2 separate regions of the Homo sapiens genome follow, and region 2 is linked to region 1. Evidence: promoter capture Hi-C in human tissues and cell types (Jung and others, 2019). All regions are on one chromosome and are shown on one strand. The core of a region is centred on a gene start or on the middle of the fragment in contact, and the rest is flanking DNA. Distances in the headings are between cores, read along the strand shown.

What was found. Contacts are between HindIII fragments. The study calls those that stand out against the background at their distance.
Region 2: a fragment that was not itself captured here is called in contact with the fragment with the promoter of DZIP1 in region 1 in 1 of the 25 tissues and cell types used here (mesenchymal stem cells).

The regions. Positions count from the first base shown.
Region 1 is chr13:95,643,456-95,648,542 of GRCh38, forward strand. DZIP1 (DAZ interacting zinc finger protein 1) reads right to left here and starts at 1,251. Exons shown (of 23, transcript NM_198968.4): 1 at 922-1,251; 2 at 146-243. RefSeq lists silencers at 864-973, 1,034-1,123, 1,214-1,323 and an enhancer at 1,414-1,463. The HindIII fragment of the contact is 16,516 bases long and covers 1-5,087 here.
Region 2 is chr13:95,772,134-95,777,115 of GRCh38, forward strand. The region is part of intron 9 of DNAJC3 (DnaJ heat shock protein family (Hsp40) member C3); the gene reads left to right. Among named protein-coding and RNA genes, the nearest start is that of DNAJC3, 97 kb to the left of the region's middle. The HindIII fragment of the contact is 7,229 bases long and covers 1-4,982 here.

The DNA of each region.
Region 1 (5,087 bases), core at 1-2,500:
TCCCTGCAACCAGGCATAAAAAGTGCTAAAGACATAAATAGTTTCAAAGTTTGATTCTGTCACTTACTTGCTCCCTGATCTAGAACAAATTGTCAGCTCTAAGACTTAGCTTCCTCCATCTGTTTAAGAGCATCAAGACACCGACCTGGCAGGTCTGTAGATTCTGGACTCCATCCACTGGGCTGCAGGATCAGCGGGAACAAGAGCTGTGGTCTCTCTTGCTCAAGTATACGTCCCTAGAACCTAGCAGAGGACAGGCACGGAGAAGGCGTTCAGAATTTGCTGAATGGACACGTGAATGAAGAACGATCGAATGACTTAGGCGCTTAGTTAAGGAAACATCAGCTCCTGGCCCTTTATCCCTCCTATTTTTGCTGCCTCTGGCCTGTTAGAACGATTAACCCATGATCTGGGCCAAGGGCTTCAGAGCTGAACGTGGGGGTGGCCCGCGCGCCCCCGCTGAGATCTGGGCGCAGAGGCCTGCGGGCCCGAGGTACCCATCTCCGTTGGCCGCCACACTCCATCGTGGGGCGTCGTGCCGCTGACCACCCCTTTCCCCTTGCGTGGATCTCGGTCACAAGATGGCCGGAACAGGAAAGAAGGGGGCATGCTTTCCCGTTCCCTCCCTCCCCCATCCCGGGCAGGGCCCCCAGCCTTGCGCGGCGCCTCAAGTCCCAGGCGCATGGCACCGCCGGGCAGCCGAACCAGCAGACAAAAGCCGAGAGACGCGGGTTCCAGGGGAACCTCGGCGCCCTTCCTTGGAAGGCAAACAGGCAGTGGGGGCAGCGGCGGCTACTCCAGCTGGATCTGCAGAGGCTCGGCTCGCAGCCTGGAGAGGCAGGAGGGCCGGCTTCGCGGGTATCGGGATGCCCCGTCAGCCACCTCCTGTGGGCGCCTGGCGCATCCCCGGTCTCGGCTCACCCCAGCTGCGCGCTCCTGGGCGGGTGCCGGGCGCTGCAGGCGGGCGGGGGCGACACAGGGGACCCAGACCCCAGGGTCGCTGCTGACGCGGGCCGGGCCCGCGGAGGCCGAGGAGCAGCAAAGCGGAGAGAGGCAGGCCGGCTCCTTCTTGCAGGGCGCAGGATGAAACGTGTCTGGTCTGGGCAAGTTGTGGCGAGGCGGGTCGACTGGCGCCGCTCTAGGGCCTTCCAGACTCCGGACCACGGACGACTCAGGATACCCCACCCCCCTCCCGCCCCCTCCCCTCCGCGATCTCCCTCCGGCCTCTTCCCTCGGTGTCCCGGCTCCTCTGGCAACTGGGCGGGACCGCGAGCGTCTAGACCGCAGCGCTAAAATGCGCTCAGCCAATCCGGCAGCTGGCGCAGACACGTGGTTCGGGGGCGCGCTCCGTTGCTGGCCCTGGATGCTAACCCTAGGAAGGCTTTTCAAAGAGAAACCAGATTCGCTCCTACCCGGTTGTTGGTCTGGCCCTCAGCAAGCTAATTTCCCAGAGGAGCTTCAGGTGAATTATCTTCCAAAAAGAGATGCGTTTTAATCGCAGAAGTCTGCAGATGCGAAGGACCTTGAAAAGGCTATCTAATGTGGCCCTGCATTTGAGTGACGTGGAAAACCGAGATTAGGGACTTTTCACCAAAGCCCTCTAGGATTTAAACCCACGTAGGTTTCTGCGTCTCTTTCCGTTATGCCCACTTCAGGATGAAAGGCACGGATCTTTGTTGGTAGAAAGTTAGGCACTGAATTACAGGAGATGTGGGTCCGGAGTAGTGTGCTCATTTATGTAACCTAAAATTGGAACACGTGGGACAAAAGTCAGTATTTTTAAGTAACAAGTAATCCAGAACGTATGTATATACCATCATGAGAAATGAAGGCATCTTTTGCAAAACCTAAGTGTCTAATGCAGCTATATATATATATATATATAATATATATATATATGTTTTTAAATTAGAGAGGAGTAGCTGCAGAACTTTTACTGGACCAACATGCCGTTGTAAAAGTGCCTTTCCTTGTGCTTCTCCCTGACAGAATCAACTTTGTACCATACTTTAGCACAAGGCTTCAAACATAGCAACAGCTAAATATGTATTTATGTTGAATTCCTTGCTTTAGTTTTATTTGAAGCCATAAGGCCAAGATGACCATGATGGGATTTTAAATTGGTCTAATTTTAAAATTATTTTGAAAGAAAATTCAAGATCTCTATAAAAATCCTCTAAGTACTATGGGGAAAGATTTCTAGATAGAAATTTCAGACAATAGGCCGAGCGCAGTGGCTGACGCCTGTAATCCCAGCACTTTGGGAGTCCGAGGCGGGTGTATCACGAGGTCAGGAAATCGAGACCATCATGGCTAACACGGTGAAACGCCGTCTCTATTAAAAATACAAAAAATTAGCCGGGCATGGTGGTGGGCACCTGTAGTCCCAGCTACTCGGGAGGCTGAGGCAGGAGAATGGCGTGAACCTGGGAGGCGGAGCTTGCAGTGAGCCGAGATCGCGCCACTGCACTCCAGCCTGGGCGAGAGAGCGAGGCTCCGTTTCAAAAAAAAAAAAAAGAAAAAAGAAAAGAAAAGAAAAAGAAAGAAAGAAAAAAAAAGAAAGGAATTTCAGACAATATGAGATAGATAGGACCATTGCTCTGCAAAATCCGGTTTTTGCAAACTCGGTAGCTGTCTGTGTGTGTGTGTGAGAGAGAGAGAGAGATGATTGCTTAATTAATATTATTTGTTGACATACCATTTGAGTTACATGTATTTCCCATCCCCACTGTCAGTATATTACCCTACAGGTGTAGAATTGGAATAAGAAGAATCAATTGACTTTGGCATGACTTAGCAGCCATGATGCATTCTTGATCTATGCACAAACCACTTTTACCAATTGTATAATGGTATACATATTTTTAATGATTAAGGTATCTCTCTCGTCGGTCAGACTATAAGAACCTCAAGTATTCCAGCATTTTGAGCATTTAGTAAGTCCTCAAATAAATATTTGCTTTTTGAAGACAGAAATGATCCTAAAGAATGAAATAATAATACTGGTGAACATTAATCATTTTGTACAGTAAATAAACAAAAGCATTGTAGCTGAATTTATTTCAAATGATTGTTTCTGTTTCTCTCATTTGAAAATAGTTATTGATATTACCTGGCTAATGTCCTTTAGTATGAAGGCGATAAATAAAGAAGGGCAGAAATCACATGTGTTGTCTGATTCAATACATATTAATTATTTTGCCTCATATTCCCATTTCAGATACCTAACCTTGGTTTTATATACATGGTTTAAAGAATAATAGGCCAGGTGAGGTGGCTCAAACCTGTAATCCCAAAACTTTGGGAGGCCAAGGTGGGCAGATCACCTCAGGTCAACAGTTTGAGACCAGCCAGGGCAACATGGTGCAACCCCGTCTCTACTAAAAATACAAAAATTAGCCGGGCATGGTGGTGCACACCTGTAATTCCAGCTACTCAGGAGGCTGAGGCAGGAGAATCACTTGAACCTGGGAGGCAGAGACTGCAGTGAGCTGAGATCATACCACTGCACTCCAGCTTGGGCAACAGAGGGAGACTCTGTCTTGAAAAAGAAAAAAAAAAGAAAAAAAAAGGAAGCAAGTTTATTAAGAAAGTGAAGGAATAAAAAAAAAATGTACTCCATAGGCAGAACAGCCTGTACCACATTTTTTAAATCCAATCCACTGTTGACAGGCACTTTGATTGATTCCACGCCCTTGCTATAGTGAATAGTGCTGTGATGAACATATGGGTATATGTGTCTATTTGATAGAATGAATTATTTTCATTTGGGTATATACCAGGTAGTGGGATTGCTGGGTTGAATGGTAGCTCTGTTTTAAGTTATTTGAGAAATCTCCAAACTGCTTTCCACAGTGGCTGAACTAGTTTGTATTTCCACCAACAACGTATAAGCATTCCCTTTTCTCTGAAGCCTCGCCAACATCTGTTGTTTTTTGACTTTTTACTAATTGCCATTCTGACTGATGGAAAACGACATTAACAGACACTTCTCAAAGGAACACATACAAGCGGCCAACATACGTATGAAAAAATGCTCAACACCACGAATCATCAAAAAAATGCAAATCAAAACAATGAGAAACCATCTCATACCAGTCACTGTGAGATTTAACAGATTTTAGGGCTGGTTTATAGGGAGAAATGTATTTAGGGGCTTGCAGGGAATTTCTTTGTAATTTGTGAGGGAGGCCATCTGGGAAGGTGTATGGCCTTCTATTATTGTGGGAATCTGACTTATATATAAGGCTCTGGCATGGAATTGTGAAATTACAACCATCTGTTTGGAAACAAAATGGTAGGCAGTATTGCCCCAACTCAGTTGCCAAGCTCAAATCTCCTTTGGCATAGTGAGTTTGGGGTCCCAAGATTTTATTTTCTTTCACACTTGGAACCTGAAAGTCAGACCCACATACTAAGGATGGGAAGGCAGAATGATGTTGTAAAGGGGTCATATCAGTCTTGAACCACCTGCATCTAGACATCTCTTCCAGGTGAGAAACCTTTTCAAGACATTTATCTGGATATTCTCTTTTATGCAGAAAAATCGAATTTTAACTGCCATTAGAACCTCCCACATCTCATGATTGTTCTGTGGATTACAGGGAACTGTTCTTGTGATAATTCAACTTCAATTGCATTCACTGCCACTATAACAATTAAATTCCTGGGAGGGTTGGGCACAGTGATTCACGCCTGTAATGCCAGCACTTTGGGAGGTCGAGACAGGCGGATCACCTGCGGTGTGGAGTTTGAGACCAGCCTGGTCAACATGGTGAAACCTCATCTCTACTAAAAACACAAAAATTAGCCAGGCATGGTGTCCCATGCCTGTAGTCCCAGCTACTCAGGAGGCTGAGGGAGGAGAATCACTTGGACTCAGGAGACAGAGATTGCAGTGAGCCAAGATTGTAACACTGCATTCCAGCCTGGGTGACAGAGTGAGACTCCATCTCAAAAATAAATAGGTAAATAAATTCCTGTGAGAAAGATTCTAATTGACTTAGTCACATGCCCAACCAGTGGTTTGGCTAAACGCAGGGTGTAAATGACAGCTCCACCATAATTACTTGAAAAAGACTGTAGCA
Region 2 (4,982 bases), core at 1,178-3,677, 130 kb after region 1:
AATAAAACTTTATTTTGAAAAACAGGTGGTGGGCTGGTAGCACTGTTATCACTTTTCCACTATAAAAAAGCAGAAAAGCATTCAGTGTTTCGCCAATAATCCTATCCTTGATGAAGGATATTTCATTTCATGCATATATCACACTTTATCTACTGTCATATTACCAGACACTTCAGCTGACTTTTTTAGTTATTAAAAAGAGCTGCTATGAACATTATTCTAACGGGCTTTTTTTTAGACATATGTTTTTGTTTATCTGCAAGCAGAATTGCTGTCATAGTGTACGGTGCTTGCTCAGTTTTAAAAGAAACTGCCAGACTCTTTCTAAGGTAATATATAATTTATACAGCTACAATAAAGTATGAGAGTTCTAGTTGCTCTGCATCCTTGCAAACATTTTGTGTTCTCATTCTTTTTAGTTTTATCCATTTTGGTGTGTGTTAGTATCTATTGTGGTTTTAATGTTTGTTTCCTTGATGACTAAGGTTGTTGAATACTTTTCATGTGTTGTTTCTGTGTTTAAATATCTTACTTTGTGAAGTAAGCATTCTGCACATGCTTACCCACTTAAAAATATTTGCTGTTTCTTTTTGTTACAGAGTTGAACTTATTTATATATTTATGTTTTCCCCTTTATTCCATTAATGTGGTAAATTAAACTGACATTTCTAAAGTTAAATCAACCTTTAATTATTGGGATAAACTCTTCTTGGACAGGAATTTAGATATTGCTGGATTTGATTTGCTAACATTTTAAGAAGTGTGCACCTATGTTCATGAGGGATAATTGCTCTGTAACTTTTTTTGGTAATGTCTTTGTCAGAGTTCAGTGTTAAGGATGTACTGGACTCAAACAGTTCAAAATTGTCCCTCCTCTATTTTCTGAAAGAGTCATATAAGATTGGTGTCATCTCTTCTTTAAAGTTTGAGAGAATTCACCAGTAAAACCATCTTGGTCTTGGAAGTTGGTTTTTGATTTTTTTTTTTTTTTTTGGTAGGATGGTTTTTGACAAATTTAGTTTTTTTTTTTTTTTTCATTTTGTTTTTGCTTTTTTTGAGACAAGGTCTTGCTGTGTCACCCAGGCTGGAATGTAGTGGCACAATTATGACTCACTGCAGCCTCGACCTCCCAGGCTAAGTGATCCTCCTACCTCAGCCTCCCAAGTAGCTGGGACTACAGGTGCATGCCACCACACCTGGCTAGTTTTTGTATTTTTTGTAGAGATGATGTTTTGCCATGCTGCCCAGGCTAGTCTCAAACTCCTGGGATCAAGTGATCTGCCCACCTAGGCCTCCCAAAGTGCTGGGACTACAGGCGTTAAGTCACTGCACCTGGCCTTATTTAGTTTTATTCAGTATAAGGCTATTAATATTTTCTGTTTCATCTGTGTTAGTTTTTGTAAGTTACATCTTTTAAGGAATGTTTCTATTTCTTGACATTGCTGAATTTGTTGGCATGAAGTTCATAATATTATCTTATTATTTAATGTCTATAAGGTCTGTAAGATTATTCCTGCTTTGTTTCTAATATTAATAATTTGTATTTTCTTTTTTTCCTGTTGATCATTGTAGACAAAGTTTGGTCAATTTTGTTGGTCTTTTTTTTTTTTTTTTTTTTTTTTGAGACAGAATCTTGCTCTGTCGCCAGGCTGGAGTACAGTGGAGCGATCTTAGCTCACTGCAACCTCTACCTCCTGGGTTCAAGTGATTCCACTGCCTCAGCCTCCTGAGTAGCTGGGACTACAGGTGTGCACCACCACACCCAGCTAATATTTTGTATTTTAGTAGAGACGGGGTTTCACCATGTTGGCCAGGATGGTCTCGATCTCCTGACCTCGTGATCCACCCGCCTTGGCCTCCCAAAGTGCTGGGATTACAGGCGTGAGCCACGGTGCCTGGCCTTGTTGGTCTTTTTAAGGAACCAACTTCGGGATTTGTTAATGGTTTCTATGGCTTTTCTTTATTACTTTATTGATTTCTGCTCTTTAGTTCCTTAGACTTACTTTGGTTGTACCTTGTGCTTTTGCTAGAACAGTCATTGATTTTAGGCCTTTCTTTCTTTTTAAATATAAGCATTTAAAGTTGCACCTTTCACATTTTGTTTTACTTTCATTATAACTTGGCTTGAAGTGTATTCTAATTTCCCTTCTGACTTCTTTGATGCATGGATTATGTATAGGTGTTCTAATTTTCAAATAGTTGATGGTTTCTTAGGTACTTTATTATTTATTTTGAATTTAATTCCATTGTGGTCAGAGAACATACTAGGTGTGATTTCCTTCCTTTTAAATTTATTTAGGCTTGTTTTGTGGTCCAGCATGGTATCTACCTTGATGAATATTCTATGTACACTTGAAAATAAGGTGTATTCTGCAATTGTTGGGTGTAATATTTGTTAGTTTTTCCATCAGGTATAAGGTGAGAGTTGTTAAGATCTTTGATAATCTGTTGTGGAAATTGTGAACTTTCCTGTCTGTCTTTAATATTGTCAATATTTCCTTCAAGCATTTGGAAGCTCTGCTATTAGCAGCCTACATATTTATGACTGTCAAGTGTTCTCCTGATGAATTTTTACTTTTATTCTTACTCAGTGTTCCTGTTGATCACTGGCAATACTCTTTTTCTTGAAGTTTTATATGATATTAATAGAATCACCTCTGCCTTCTTGATCTTATTGTTTGCATGGTGTGTCTGTCTTCATTCATTTACTTTGAGTGTCTTTGTGCCTTTATAAGTATGTCTCTTATAGACATCATGTAGTTGGAACTTGCTTTGTTTCTGTCAATTTTTATAATTATAATCTGTGTTTGAAGTGTTTACTTGATCAATATTACTGTGATTATTGATATGGTTGTATGTAGGTCTGCCATTTTACTATTGTTTTCTTTTTGTCCTTTTGTTTTTGAATTTTTTGTTCCTCTCTTTCTGTTGTCATTTAGATTATTTGAATATTTCTAGTATCCCCTCTGGGGTGCAGTGGTTATTCACAGGTGTGATTATATTGCATTGTAGTCTTAAACCCCTGGCCTCAAGCAGTCCTCCTGCCTCAGCCTCCCAAGTAGCTGGGACTGTAGGTGCATGTCCTGCACTTGACTGTAACGACGTTTTAAATAAATTTCTAATATTAGTTTAATAGTTTCTAATTATTAGTTACCACTATAATTGAAATTAAAATATGTCTTCCTCTAGCTCTTGATTTATCAATTTTAGGCAGTATCCCTTGTCTGCCTGCTACAGAAGAGGAAGAACTGAGTAGACCTCACTAGTTCCTTTTGTTCTTTCTCACCTTCAGTTTTAGTTGAGTATTTGATCTTTTGCTTATATTTACAGCTTTAATGTAATATAAATAAGTTTTAATATACCCAAGTTTCTTTCTTACCCTGTCACCTTTAGATAGCATCTCGATTGTATACTACTGATAATAAGGAAATTAGTATATTTCCATCTTACCTTTCAGCTACATTTTAAGTATGTGTTAGTATACTTTTATAATGTTTGTAGTATGTAGATTATTTCCTGTAACTATAATTGTGTATAGTAAGGAAATGAAAGCCATTTAGTAGATTAATGTATTGTATAGCTGCAGGATCAAGTCATGTGTTTGAATCCTTAGAGAAGGAGATGCAATCATTTCACCAACCAGGGTCAGATACATGGAGTCTCTTGTTCACAGATGGCCACACTTTTAGTATGCTTCTCATTTGGAGCAGGATTTTTTGGAAAGCGTCACCCCGAGTTAGAGTTACTGTCTCTCTGCCAGAAGAAACCTATGCCTCTGTCTTACTAAGAACATCTTGAGATTTTTAATGACAGTTTGTATGAATGAGATCCGCTCTCTGTGAAGATACTCTTTTTATATATATATATATACTTTTTTTTTCTTTTCACTCTGAAGATATTCTTTAGCCCTATAACTCCTGGCTGTGCCTGGCCTGCTGCACATCTTTTGCCCCAGAACTCCTTTCACTGCCTTTCTGGGTTTTTCTGTCTTCTTTTTAAAAATTTAATATAATGTCTTCATCTTTCTTGGATTCTTTTTTTATTTTGCTTAAAGTGCATCCTCAAAAAGTGATATGAATGCGTCTGATGCTGGAAGGGAGTATTGCAGCTTCTCAGAAATTCAGAGGAAAAATGAATTTTAACACAGACTTTTATGTATAGTAAACTATTAATTAGGGTAAGGATTCAGTGCAATTGTTTAGAAGTTTTCTTTTTTCAGTGTTCTGGAGACACTGGAATCACCTGTGGTGTAAAAGTTTGGAACAATCTCTGGAAAGACTGCTGCTTTACTGGGAGGTGGCTTAGTGACAGCTTTCTCTGTGAAAATGTTTTGTGTGGGCTTTCCTTTTTGAGCCAATGAAATTCTTTTAAATAGGTTAGTTTAGCACATTTGCATTGATCGATATGACAGATGTTTGGTCAACATTCTATCATTCTGTTTTGCTGAAATCTTTTTGCGATTTGGCCTGTATTTTGTATACGCTCCTGATATTTAGGAAAGTTTGTATTTTTGTACTTTTAAAAATAGTTTTATTAACACTATTTTGGCAACATCCATTAGTTTCCTACTGTGAGGGAAAATTTAGTGTACTTCCTCCTCTTCCTCACTGTTCTTCCACCTCTTAATAATTTGTTGAGGAAATTTTTTAGGATTTGCCTTTGTAATATTACTCAATTTATCAGTGGCTGATGTTTTCTGATTGCTTCAGCTGATGTAGGTGGGAATGAATGAACTTACTCCCTCATCATCCTTCCCCTTTCTTTTCCCATGTTTCGTCAGCTGTATCCCTTCTGCACCATCAGGGCACACGCTCTGCTCTGTCGCTGTTAGTCCCCTGCTTTGTGTTAGTCTTGGTTCTACGTGAAATTCAGTGTCTACTGGTTTTCCTTTGGCCATGGTTTCTTCAGCCATCACTTGGTGAGTTCATCTTATAGTAGTTTCCTCAGGGAGGTCCTAAGAGAATTTTCCCTGCTTTCTTCTA